3 separate regions of the Homo sapiens genome follow, and all the other regions are linked to region 3. The links are contacts of gene promoters, found by promoter capture Hi-C in human tissues and cell types (Jung and others, 2019). All regions are on one chromosome and are shown on one strand. The core of a region is centred on a gene start or on the middle of the fragment in contact, and the rest is flanking DNA. Distances in the headings are between cores, read along the strand shown. Region 1 overlaps PLS1 (plastin 1). Region 2 overlaps TRPC1 (transient receptor potential cation channel subfamily C member 1). Region 3 holds the start of PCOLCE2 (procollagen C-endopeptidase enhancer 2).

What was found. The method cuts DNA at HindIII sites, captures the fragments that hold promoters and counts their contacts. A contact is called where the count stands out against the background at its distance.
Region 1: a contact is called between a fragment that was not itself captured here and the fragment with the promoter of PCOLCE2 in region 3, in 1 of the 25 tissues and cell types used here (IMR-90 fibroblasts).
Region 2: a contact is called between a fragment that was not itself captured here and the fragment with the promoter of PCOLCE2 in region 3, in 2 of the 25 tissues and cell types used here (H1 embryonic stem cells and neural progenitor cells).

The regions. Positions count from the first base shown.
Region 1 is chr3:142,691,370-142,696,143 of GRCh38, reverse strand. It overlaps PLS1 (plastin 1), which reads right to left. Exons shown (of 16, transcript NM_001145319.2): 11 at 1,597-1,675. Among named protein-coding and RNA genes, the nearest start is that of TRPC1, 30 kb to the left of the region's middle. The HindIII fragment of the contact is 5,635 bases long and covers 1-4,774 here.
Region 2 is chr3:142,740,911-142,745,662 of GRCh38, reverse strand. It overlaps TRPC1 (transient receptor potential cation channel subfamily C member 1), which reads right to left. Exons shown (of 13, transcript NM_001251845.2): 3 at 2,077-2,178. Among named protein-coding and RNA genes, the nearest start is that of TRPC1, 19 kb to the right of the region's middle. The HindIII fragment of the contact is 7,023 bases long and covers 1-4,752 here.
Region 3 is chr3:142,886,582-142,891,120 of GRCh38, reverse strand. PCOLCE2 (procollagen C-endopeptidase enhancer 2) reads left to right here and starts at 2,038. Exons shown (of 9, transcript NM_013363.4): 1 at 2,038-2,307; 2 at 3,344-3,452. The coding sequence starts at 2,225. It overlaps LOC124909443 (a long non-coding RNA gene), which reads right to left and starts at 2,857. Exons shown (of 2, transcript XR_007096122.1): 1 at 2,662-2,857; 2 at 354-1,530. RefSeq lists a silencer at 2,046-2,095. The HindIII fragment of the contact is 12,495 bases long and covers 1-4,539 here.

The DNA.
Region 1 (4,774 bases), core at 822-3,321, 200 kb after region 3:
GGTCCAAAAAAATGCAATCATGTTTAAGTTACTAAGATTAAAAGTAAAAGTCTTGGGCACGGTGGCCCACGCCTGTAATCCCAGCACTTTGGGAGGCCGAGGCAGGCAGATCACCTGAGGTCAGGAGTTCGCGTCCAGCCTGACCAACATGGAGAAACCCCATCTCTACTAAAAATACAAAATTAGCTGGGCGTGGTGGCACATGCCTGTAATCCCAGCTACTTGGGAGGCTGAGGCAGGAGAATCACTTGAATCAGGGAGGCAGAGGTTGCGGTGAGCCGAGATCACACCATTGCACTCCAGCCTGGGCAACAAGAGTGAAACTCCATCTCAAATAAATAAATAAATAAATAAATAAATAAATAAATAAATAAATAAATAAGTAAGTCTCCTTACTATTCTCTACTCCTACTACCCAGGCTACATAGAGTTTGCTATGTACCTCTCTAGATTTTCTTTTAAAATTCGAATACAAATATCCACACACTCAAATTGTAAACAAAATGGGATCATACTAGACCTGTTATTCTTTTTTCTTGACTATATATTATAGACATTCTTTCAAATCAGTCCATAAAAAGTGAATCCCTCCTCACCTTCAATATTTGTGTTTTAACTTCCCTGCTACTGTAACAGGAGCTCTGGTCTAATTGACGTATATCTCCTCATCCAGCTGAAATTTACACACTCTTTAAGAGCTTTACAAATATGGGTCTATCACATCAAAGCCAGTTACCATAATAAGGTAACACTGGTTTTCAATTTTAAAGAACATTGTGAATAAACACCAAGGAGCAGAAATTACAACATCATAAATCCTCAGTGAACCAGTGAACTTGGCCTGTTGTGACATTAATCTTCTTTAAGGAGTTAATCATAATCTTGTTTAAGGAGTTTCTTGGGTATATAAATTATTAATACATTTAGCTAATTAGAACTTTTTTCTAAAAAAAAATACAACTAGCTGAAGTTGGCTTATTTTGCACTTTATCAAGGCAGGCTGGTAGATTGTATAATAAAGAGAGAAGAATGGTTTCCTCTCATCCACACTTAGAAAGATGCATCGTTAGCCCAGGAGTTGATTTAGTAAAATATTTTCTTAGCCCTACTAATGTCAATAATGTGTTATCATTTTTTAAACAAGAAAGAATGAGATAAGCTATAACAATTATTCAAGGAAAACAAGTTACTTTTACAAATTAGAAAAAAATATACACAAAAATTATGGAATAATTAAGGTTTTGGCAAAAATAAATGAAAAATGACATAATAAAAATACTGATATAACAACAATTTATCAGTTATTACTGTTACTCTAATCTGTTAAAGTTGAAATTATTTTTACAATCAATAACTATAAAAAAGGATTATCTTTACTGATTTACGTATATCATCAAAAACATAACTATTATTCCTTTTTTGAATAGTAGCTTTCTTTTAAAATCCATTGTATTGCCAATTCCCAGCATCCTGAAACTCTAAAAATTGGCTAAAATTCTTGCAACTTGAGAAAATGTTCCATTTAAACATGCCTACAGTTTGAAACTTGAAAAGTTGGACCCTGACAGTAAAGCTGAAGCACAATAAAATATTTACCTGTACAAATGATTAATGTATGGGTTGACTCCCAAGGAATTCATCCAGTTCCGAAATGTTCTCTCTTCCTTGCTCTCTCCTAGAGTAGACACAAGCTCACACTGATGACTCAGGACAAAAGGAACCAGGAACTATATGTTAAACCATTCTAGCAGGTACAAACTGGTCAAACCTACCTTGCCATGGTTCTTTAGATACTACAGTTTCTTTAAAGGGAGAAAAAAAGTCTCTTAATGCCAAAGTCCCTTCTTTCCTACTATCTAGGAAGCCTCCATTTGCTCTAAATCTCTCCTTCTAGATTCCCTTTGATGTCTGTGAACTAGTACTGAGCCATGGGTTTCTCTACCTAGAAATAACAGATACACTTCTGTGGTCTATAATTATGATTAGATGCAAAAGGGATTCACTAAACATTAATAAAAACAAAATGTTTTCGCAGTCAGGGTAACATTAGCACATTAAACACAAATAGAAAAGTTATACCTTTCTCGGTGCAGTGTTTCTAAATTTGTACAAATTATGGTTTTACATAGGAAAGTTTCTCAGCACACAGACCTACACTTTACACCACACAATGAAGGGCAGAGGGGATTACAGGTAAATATAAAAACACACAATGAGGGGAATATAACTATTTTACAGGCTTCCTGAGTTAGTTTAGATTATCATTACTGAAAATACATAAGGAACACAGACCCAATACAGGTTGATAAGAGAAAGACAGATTTCATCATAGTAAGTTCCTGGACCTCAAAGATCCCCTCAAGGAGATAACTCCTTCAGGTGCTGTTATTTAACCATACCTCCCTGAGCATTCCCTTTGTAACAGTGCTTACATCATCTATAAGGAAAATGCGGGTCATAGTATACCACAAAGTGAGCAGGGATGTGGGCTGGCTCTGCCACTGTCTGCCTTCTAGTCATCTCCTGACTGCAAATAGTTCTAAGTAACTATCATGATTATTTGTTCTTCGGCAAAGTTATTAGACAGTGGAATGGCCTAGTTTACATCTTATCAGCAGACTCCTGAAAAACTGAAACATTTACACCTGTCATCACTTCTAAGTTATAGGCAAGTTCAAGTCACTCTCTAGATTTTGGCCCATGTGAGACTCACAGGACAATTTGGCACATAAATCTATAATCATCTGCGTTCCAGGGGCTCGTTCGTATAGAGCGATTGCAACAGTCATCTTCACATTGAGTGCCAAAGACAGTATAAACCTGCACACCCATGATAGGAACGCAAGCCTTGTCAGATCTAAAGGATTCTGTTATTTGTGCCAACTGTTCAGGAAATCATCTACCCACTGTAGTTTCATGTGATTTCAATGCCATTATCTAACAGCTTTCCCAGAATCTGCTTTAATTATTGCTCTATTATGTAGCCCTATAATTTCTTGCTTAAATTTTGTTCCCTCTGGTCTGCATAAAAGGTAACTGATCAGTCTGTTGTATCTGCTACCACCACTTTATAATAAACAGTCTACATGAGAATCTTTTTTTAAGAATAACCAAGCTAAACTAAATATTTCTAGAATCCATGCCAGCCTTATTTGTAGGAATTATTAAACAGGTACAAATTAAATCTATGAACTATCCCCAAAGTGACATAAATATAAACATACTATGATCAATAACTTGATGCCTTTGATTTGGATTTACCTCTCAGTTGTTTCTCTATCTATCATAAAGATATATATATATATGTTTCTAATAGTTACAGAAGTTTTACATTATTTCCATCTAGGAAAATCTAAATGTCTTAAAATTATGAAGATTAATAGTGCCATAATGGTTTAATTTTTAATTAAAATATCCAAATTCTGTTGAACCTAATGATGCAGTGAATAATATTTTAAAATAACTAAACTTGCATTTTGATTGAGTTCTGAAACTATCTTCGGGGGTTCATATTTCTTCCTATTGTTCTCAACTGATTATATAATTATTTTAATTTTTGATACCTGGAAAGTAAAATAGATTTTATAAATGAGCATTTATTTATCTAATAACATTTCAAAGTGTCTTGGTAAATAAATGCTCAAAGCTAGAGGCACTATGCATTTGTGCAACAGCCATGGTAAAGCATTACAAAGATATATGTGTTCCAGATTGGAAAATGTTGTCTGGATTATAGACAGCTAAAGCAATCTTAGAAGTAAAACCTTTTTTTCCCCCTAGATCTGATATACAATTTCAAGAAGTAAAATCTTAATTGCTGATATACAAGATTGAAAGAACTATAAAACATTCTTTTCATTTGCAGGCTCAATTTGACGTCTACAAATAATAAAAAATAGTAATAAAAATAACAAATATCTTAGAAGTAGGTTACTAAGAGGGAAAAGAGGAGTTAACATATATTTAACACTCAAATGTGCTGTGACATATGAAGTGCTTTCCTCCTCCCTCCCTGACCATTAATAAACACATACTGTATTCTTCCATTCATGATCACATTTAGCTTGCTCTGTAACTCTTCAAATTAAGTTTATTAGTCTTGTTTTATATATGAAAAAAACCAAGGCTCACAGAGGTCATTCAGATTAAATAGTGGAACTATGATTTGAACAAAGTCTGATAGTTTATGGCCTGTGTACCTTCTGTAATCATAAATGAATTCTGAGATGATCTTTCTGTACGTAGCCCACATATCTGGTTCAATTTGATGTGAGCGTTTAATATTTAATTGTGTTTTATTTAATTCCCTAGAGAGAAAATTCTCTGCCAATGAGGACATACTAACATATGAATTTGGGATGTGATATGATCAAGCTTCAAATTTCATAAGGATATATTAAAACACAAATTTACAGAGGAAAATAATCCAATGACAGTCAAAGTCAAATACATTTTTGGCAGATGTATGAGGACATACATAATAAAGATGACTGATAAATATTTCCCATGTTATCTTAATAGACAGTAAATAATAATGGAAATATTTAGCAATCCTATTCACACTGAAAAATTCCAAAAGCATGCTGAACACTAGCAAAAAGAATTCAAACATGAAAAATAAGAAAGCGAGCAAGTTGGAAAAGATACCTAGCAAGAATTCAGTGACTATAAAAAGCAGATCATTTTTAATATGCCACTCTAAACAATGCCTTCTACTGACAGAGGGATTTTGAAATTTTCCAGACTGATAAAACCTAACAGTGTTGCTTTTGCT
Region 2 (4,752 bases), core at 1,772-4,271, 150 kb after region 3:
TTTCTTTTTCTTTTTTGTTTTAGAAGAGTTTTGCTCTGTCGCCCAGGCTGGAGTGCAGCGGCTCGATCTCAGCTCACTGCAACCTCCACCTCCAAGGCTCAAGCAATTCTCCTGCCTCAGCCTCCCAAGTAACTGGGATGACAGGTGCACGGCACCACGCCCGGCTAATTTTTCTATTTTTAGTAGAGATGGGGTTTCTCCATATTGGTCAGGCTAGTCTTGAACTCCCAACCTCAGATGTTCCACCCGCCTCGGCCTCCCAAAGGTTATTTTACTAAGTAGGTGAGGGCTGCCAACACTAAGATTTAATCGTTAGTGATAATGGTGATGAATAAAACCAGTCAATGGTTCCAGTACTCAAGCACACTACACCCCACCCTTCCCCCAGGAAAGGAAATGGACTAAAAGGCTAGAAGATGGGACAGGTGTGCCAAAATATAATAATAACTGCAAGATAAGTGGCAGAAAATTGAATGGTATTTTAGATATTTCTGATGCTTTGGATAGGGACTATATTCTTAGCCTTTTGTTCCTTATTCCTGTTGATTTCTTACCACCACTTAAACTAGATGGTACTATCCTCTGGAGAAAGTCACACTTTTGTAATAGTCTGAATGAGTAAGATTTTTCAGTTACTATATAACAAAGTATGCAATTTAGCAGAGCCTCTCACATTTCTCAAACATGGCAGAGAGTCAACAACCAATTTATAATTCTCTCTTAAAACAGTATTTTTCTTCTGCTTATAGCCAGCCTATATTGCCAGCAGTTATTTAAACTGCTTGTTTCACGGTATCGTCACCAATAATGAATGTTATCATGTTTAAAATTTGATTAAAAAACAATAAAATTAGCATTTATTTAGTAGTGACTATCCTCCTAATTACAAAAGCAATAAAGAAAAATAAAAAGAGTACAAAAAAATCCATAATTTGGTTAGTCAATGAGAGATGATGATTGTTAGGTAACATTTTGTTGCATTTCCACACAGTCCCTTTTCTACGCATATTTTTAACCGTGGTAAGTATTTTAACCATAGTAAGTATTCCACTTACTACGTTATATTTTTCCATGTTCCTAACTATTCTTTTAAAAGTACTGTTTTAATGACTGCATAATATTCCATTGTACATATATGTAATCATTTATATTTCCTATCTTCTATTTTGGAATGTTTAGATTATGTCACATGGGCTTTTAAAAATTACTACAAATAAGATCACAACCAACATTTTTGTCCACATTTCTGACCATTTCCTTGATAAGTTCCCAGAGGAGAAAGCACTAAGTTAAAGCATATGAACACCTTTCTTATGACAGATCCTGCCAAAACACTTTCCAAAATACCTGCCTCACTAGTAGCATGAGACTGTAATACTCCCTTGCTATCAATGATTTTTTTTAAATTTTCAACTTTAATAAGTAAATTTGGTAAGTTTAAAATTAGTATCTTACTGTATTTGATTATCATTAAGATTTAACATTTTGTATTTTCTGCTATTTCTATGTCCTTTTCTAATATGTTTTTCACCAATTTGTCCAATATTAAGATTATTAATTTATGATATATGCTGCAAATATCTTTTGCCAGTTATTCATCTGCTTTCTAAATTTTGTCTGATGTCTGGATTCCAAAAATTTAACTTTTTTAACAGCAAAAACTGTGCCACTGTGATTTCTGTCCATTGCTTTTATGCACATAAAGTCTTTCTACTCACGATCAGTTAAACATTCACCTACATTTTCTTCCAGTTTGTTGGTTTCATTGTTTACATTTAATTCTTATCTATCTGCAAACTAATCTATATTTTCAACATTACCTGCAGAATATTTCAAATGGTAAATACTGGTCCACAGTGACAAAATTATGGAAATATCAACTAAATTTAAAAAGTTTTCCTGAAAGAAATACTAATTATTCCTGCAAGTGTCCACTTTTAATATTTTACAGAGTGAGAAAAAATATCTATTTTTTGAAAAAACAAAATAAATTTGAGGGAAGGAAAAAATGGCAATGGGGCAAGAGATCTATTTTGGTTTAAAAATCCAAATTAATAAATATTTAAGAGTACTAACTACTATAGTTGGTCTTGATGATCGTTTTGGTCGATGATTAAGTAGTATATCAACAGCTCCCACTACTTCAGAGTCGATTGCCACCAAAAGTGCATCTGCAGACTTCAAAAAAAAAAAAAGTTAAAAATGAAAATGGAAGATAAAAAGGTAAACTACTTCTTTTTACTAATTCATAAATAAAACTTTTTAAAAATTTAAACTGTATTATATACAGTAATACAAAATTTTTCAAAAATTTTGACTGTACAAATAGTACATTTGCTTGCCTTAGGAGTACTTCTGTGTACCACAATACACACGTTTCTGTCCTGGTTTCAATGCATGAGTTGGTAAAATAATGAATGTCTCATTGAAGGGATTATTAGAGTAACAGTGCTGATCCATGCAGGATTTAAAGTTGAAAATTTTTTTTCAAGATCCTTACTCTTGAACTGTGGACCAAAAGAATCTTAACAATCCAAATCTATAAAAGAAACTGTCAAGAACTATTACTACAGGTAAAGGATTTTTTTCAGTCTAATGAAAATGATTATCATCAATGCAAACAGGAATATAGGGAGAATATCTAAAGGTGAGAGCCTTCTGTTCTCATTTTTAAAACACATGGCTGACTAAAATGCTACAAATTTGACATTTATGAGCAATTTTATCAAGTATAAGCCACAAATAGTTAGGCTACCAAAGTTCATGGAGACTGGAGGGAGAAGTGACTTTATCATTCTGCTCCCAGTCTATAGCTCACTGTGAAGATCCGAAAGAGGAAAAAGTAAGGAGACTCTGAGGAAATGGGGACTTTTCAACTCTGTAACAAAGCCTATAGTCCTACTGGCAACTATAACATCAGGTTTTTGGATTTTTAGGGAAAAATATAAAGGAAGAAGGAAAACATGGGGATAAATAATGATTTAATCTAAGAAAATGCCCTAATTATTTTCAATCTGTACATTTTAACTGCTATAATCATTAATAACTATTTAAATCAATGTTCTTGCTCTTGGAAACAAAACTATATCGATCTTTAATATTCTTTGTAGCTGAAAAGAGTAAAGTTTATATTCACTTTATCTGGATGTAAAAAATAGAACTAAAAGTGGCAGACTTTACCTGAATATCTAAAAATAGGACTATGCACCTCAAAAAAAAGGGTTGGAGTCCTCACTCAACCCTTAGGAATCACCTATGTTTTCCCACAGAAAAACTTCCCACCCAGATGGGAAATTTAACCCATTGCACTATCTCTTAAAACTTTCAGGGTTCATTGAGCTGTGGCCTATGCTTTAAAGTCCTAGCATTATTACTCTGCTTTGCAAACATTTCTCTTCAGATTTTAGCATATTTAATCAGTTGAAGGAAATGAACAAAAAGAATGCTATATCCATTACTATTAAATATTTCATTTATGATTTTTAATTTTTTTTTTTTTTGAGACAGAGTCTTGCTCTGTCACCCAGGCTGGAGTGCAGTGGCACAATCTTGGCTCACTGCAACCTCCGCCTCCCAGGTTCAAGGGATTCTCCTGCCTCAGCCTCCCGAGTAGCTGGGACTACAGGTGCATGCCACCATACCCGGCTAATTTTTGTATTTTTAGTAAAGACAGGGTTTCACCCTGTTGGCTGGGCTGGTCTCTAACTCCCAACCTCAAGAGATCCACCCACCTCGGCCTCTCAAAGTGCTGGGATTACAGGCGTGAGCCACTGCGCCCAGCCTATGATTTTTAATTTTAACCAATAAAGCTAACTATAGTAATGTCATTACTTTCAAAGTCAAACACCAGGGAACTTCAACAATCTGAAAAATAGCCATGGATTTAAAAACAGCAACATATTGAGCTGTCACAAAGAAACTCCATGGGTATTATTTCCCAAAAGAAACAGACCCAAGCATTCTGATTTAGAATTGTCCATAAATGATGAATATCTGGCTTTCCCAAGTATCCTTCAGATCTTTACTGAATAAAAGAATAGCAAGATTAAAACCAACAGCGTAGAGGGAAAGGAAGAAAGAATTACTAAAAGTTGACTACTGAAAAGATTAAATACCAGTACAGCAAAATCACTATCAATGCACAACAGTCTAAAGCCACTTAATGTAAGGACAAACATGTTAATAGTTTCAGACCATATGAAGCAAAGTAAAATAATTACATTCTCAATTATTCCAACTAAGGATGGTAAAGTTAAATTATATTCAGATACATTACTTAGTAAGGAATAAAGATTTACATTAAATCTTTCAATGCTTAAAAGGATAAGCTTCAGCTATAAAAATATTCATTTACATTAAAATTTCTTGTAAATAAGGAGTTACCATTTACTTATTCTGCACAAATGGTATGTTATTTGATAAATCAATGGCAGTTATGAGAGAAATAAATGTTTTAAATTATTTTAAAAATACATAGTTATACAAAAAATCCTCACTAGTTTTGCTTTCCAATTTCTCAGATATTTGACGATTCTTTATTAAAAGCTCTTCAATATATACTTATTACATATTTATGAGATCATTATCTTCCTTCCTACCTTAGAATTTATCTTTTCAACAATTCCCATACTCTTTCCTTTAAGCTCAGAGTAAAAAAGTTACGTATTTCCTTTCCAAAGCTACATTTTCCACCTTAGTATTCTATTTGATGCTCTCCAATCTTTAGAACCCTGGTCCTTCATTTGCAGAAAT
Region 3 (4,539 bases), core at 789-3,288:
GTCAACAACAGAATGATTGGTGTTAAAATCCTAACTCTTTAGTGAGCATATGAACACAGTCATCAATCTATAAATTAAGAAATGGCTGTGTATTTTAGTTCAAATAGTTTCCTATTTAGGCACATTTAATACTTTGTTATTTATTTTAAATTTTGAAAACTTAGCTTAGTCCTGAATGAAGTATTTTCTGGTTTACGAGGACTGCAAATCATTACCAGAAAGTGAATTGAGCAATATTTCCCTTTATAATTTAAAACTATGACTTTCAAATAAACAATTATCTAAAAACACTTATGCTATTAGATAGCATATTCTTGAAATGCGTGCAAAATCAACAACCATTTATTCTCCTCTTCCCTGTTTTAAAGACATTTTTATTGGGTTGAGAGTGTTTCAGGATATAAAGCAGTTTGCCAAATTCTGTCACCCTTTTTTTTAATGTCATAAAGGGTGTGGTGCCTGTAGAGAAGTTTTGAAAGTTGTACTTTATGATGTTTTTGCCTTCACTTTTTAAAAAAATGGTAAGATAATCTAAGTCCTGTCCGTATATTCTGGTTCCTAGTATAGGCTTCAGGGTGCACTCACTATGAAAAGTCAGAATATTTCCTGTAGCCAGTTTTACTTACTTCCTTGCCAGGAGTGTTTAGGTTCTTTTTTTTTTTTTTTTCTTTTTTGAGATGGAGTCTCACTCTGTCGCCCGGGGCTGGAGTGCAATGGCGTGATCTCGGCTCACTGCAACCTCCGCCTCCCGGGTTCACGCGATACTTCTGCCTCAGCTTCCCGAGTACCCGGGATTACAGACGCACACCGCAACACCTGGCTAATTTTTTGTATTTTTAGTCGAGGCGGGGTTTCACCATCTTGGCCAGACTGGTTTCGAACTCCTGACCTCGTGATCCGCCCGCCTCGGCCTCCAAAAGTGCTGGGATTACAGGCGTGGGCCATCGCGCCCACCCGTGTTTAGATTCTTAACAGCTCATTATTAGAAATAAAGTCTCGATAAGAACTACTTTAATACTTAATTTTCTTGCTTAGAAAGGTGAAAACAATTTAGAAGGAACAACGTGAGGCATCAAAGTTAAGCTGTATCTCCCATAGCTGGTGATTATTAAAAATCTCTATGAATCTAGTCTGTTCCTGTCATTCTTTTATTAATCCCTGGTTATTGGGAAGCTCTTAACAAAATAAATGTTTAAAATTATATTTCTGTAATTAAGTAAAAGAGAGTATTGATTCCACAAGGCTAGAATTGTTCGTCTAAGAAAAACGAATTCTCCGTAAATTTTAACCCGTTAATACCACAGAAAGATGCTGTTGGAAAGGTCTAAGAACAGAGAGATGCAAGCAGAGAAACACCATTTTCAGAACATGACATGGGATGGTGAGATTTGCTGATTTGGTTCCGTCTTCATTATCTGACATTTAATGACAGTTCACACAGAAATCGCTCGCCTGAAAACCCGTGTTTAAATCCCGGCACAGAGACTGTCTTCCTTGTCATTGTCATACCAGTAAAAAAAAGAAAAGTATCTAGAGAGAGAGAGAGGAGAATAAGCACAGAAGTTAAAATACAATAAAATCCCTTTTCCCTTTCTTTCCTTGGATCTGGGTTTTGAAGGAGACAAAGAAGGACCCCCAGGCTTTCCAGCAGCCAGCAAGCGCTATTACTTTTTATTTAAAAGCAACTGGGAAAAACATTCCCCAAAGCAAAACCAGAAGCCCTCCCTGAGAATCGTCTCTGGGCGTCGGGGCCCGGGCCGCTGGGGTGCCACTCCGCAAGGGGTTCCTCTTCTCCCCGGGGTCCCTGAGGGCTGGACGAGAGAGGACCCGTCGGTCCCGGGGTGCCGGGAGGAGACGTTCGCCCGCCCCACGAGAGGGGGCGGCTCTGGCCTCGGAGCCGCCCCTCCTGCCGCCGGAGAACAAACGGGATATTCAGCAGTGGCCTGTGGCTGCCAGAGCAGCTCCTCAGGGGAAACTAAGCGTCGAGTCAGACGGCACCATAATCGCCTTTAAAAGTGCCTCCGCCCTGCCGGCCGCGTATCCCCCGGCTACCTGGGCCGCCCCGCGGCGGTGCGCGCGTGAGAGGGAGCGCGCGGGCAGCCGAGCGCCGGTGTGAGCCAGCGCTGCTGCCAGTGTGAGCGGCGGTGTGAGCGCGGTGGGTGCGGAGGGGCGTGTGTGCCGGCGCGCGCGCCGTGGGGTGCAAACCCCGAGCGTCTACGCTGCCATGAGGGGCGCGAACGCCTGGGCGCCACTCTGCCTGCTGCTGGCTGCCGCCACCCAGCTCTCGCGGCAGCAGTCCCCAGAGAGGTAACGCGACCCCTGCCCGGGCTCCCTTTCTCTCCTTTCCCTTCCTCCACCCCTGCAGCCTCGCCTGCTGCTTTACTCAACCCGCTTCGGCGCGCCTGGGTGACCCAGCGCTCGACCCTGCGCTCCCGCGCGGTGCAGGCGTCCGCCACCCTCGGGTAGGCTAAGCCCGGGACTTCGGGACCCATCCTTGCTCGCGGGGCTCCCTCCTGGGTCCCCAGCCCGGCCTGCCGGATGGCCCTGCAGCTGGCTTGGCCACCACGTGGCGGGGCTTAATCTGACTTGTGTCTCCCCTCTCCTCGTGTCTATGGGGCCAGAGGGAAGCACTGGGGCCCAAATATGTGGATTTTGGTTTACCGCTGTTTTTTTTCCTTCCCCGAGAGGCTTTGCCCAGAGACGTAAACTAGGGAACAACCCTAGCGGCGCGGCGCCTAGGGAGCCGCTCCGGAAAGTTAACTCTTCGCCAACCTCTGGAAGGCCCCAGGAGCTGGGCTGTGGGACCTGCCCGGTGGCCAACTTTGGCATCACCTCTTCAGCCTCCATCAACATCAGCCTCCCTTTCGATGGGAAGCTCTGCCAATGGCGAGTGATTTTCAGAAAGGGGGAGGAGAACTGGGCATCTCTCCAAATATGGGAACGACAAACTTTTTTTATATTAACCAATTGCTTGCCTGTCTTTCTTTAAAACCATGCTTCTCATTCAGCCTGGCTCTTACCTTCTCTCCCACTCCCCCAGTTAAATTGATGTATTTACCATTTTCCTACAAGACTTTGCCACAATGCCGAGGACTTGATTATACATATATATAATCTTGTGTTATTATGATGGAGACAGATGGCGCTGGACTGAATGCTTTGTCAGGCTATAATTTAAATATTCTAGGAGCTAGCAAATTTTCAGATCCCTTATATGGTGCAAGCATTGATTAATCAACATTAACTTTTATTTATATTAATAGGCTACACCTTTCTGAAGGTAACATCAGATTGTTAGACCATGTTTCAAATTACATTATCTTTTCTTCTTTTATGTTCCCAGACCTGTTTTCACATGTGGTGGCATTCTTACTGGAGAGTCTGGATTTATTGGCAGTGAAGGTTTTCCTGGAGTGTACCCTCCAAATAGCAAATGTACTTGGAAAATCACAGTAAGCATTTTTTAAAAAGGTATTCTCCTGGAAGTGGGTGTTGGCAACAGTGTGAGGCTGCTGCCTTTTTCCTCTGGTGTTAGGATTTGAGTAAGAGGCAAATGCCTGAAATAGTGAAATGTTGGATTTACCCCAACTATTGGGAAGATTTTTATTAATATAATAGATCTAGTCGTGTCCTGCATTAGTGATTACAAAGGGCACAAGATAATGCTTGAAGGAATAAATTCTCAGAGCAGATGTGTTTCTGAAAGCCCAGTGTGACTCAGTTGAGTTTTATAGATTCATAATTAAAGCTGTTTTCAGTCAAAGGCCTGTTGTAATGACCTTCATAAGTTTTTTGTTGCTCGTGCCTTCATAAATTCCCAGTGGGAAATGGAAGATCAAAGATAGTGCTTTGACTACTCTATGCTCATTAGGAAAGGAAAAAGAAAAAAAATAAAAAAAGCCCACTTAATGTTCCTGGGTTGAAACCACCTCTAAAGGCAGTCTAAGAATAGAGAATGGGGGGGTGGGAATCTAAATAGCAGCCAAGGGCCAATAAAAAGTCCATGCTGATTAGTAATAACATAGATTATGCTGAGTCAAGATAAGCTGGATTTAGAGACAGCCATATATTTTTTAACTGATTTAGAGTCAACTAGAGTGAGTCATCTTTCCAGTCAGCATAGCATTGACTGTTACCTTCTTCACTTTTTCGTTGTTGGGAAGTTGTTTAGTAATTGAATACGTTGGTTCACTGAGAGCTTCTTTCAGTCAGATTGTGCCACTGGAGGACTTAGATTTTTTAAAAAGTAGCCCCCACTGAATGTGTAAACTAGCAGTTACTGTGTGCCAGGCATTTACCATGCCAAGTAGTTAGCAAGTATAATCACCCAGAATCCTCAAAACAACTGTATGAGAAAGTATCTATTATCATCCCTATTTTATAGATGGGGAAGCTGAGGCCTGAAACAATTATAGAAATTGACTTGATCAGACAGTCGGGAAGCCCAACTTTATGTAAAAGTAAAACCTACTTTGCAATAAGGTATTCCCACTGAGGTCATTTTGCAGGCAGATATGAGAGGTCCCCTTCCATAATATA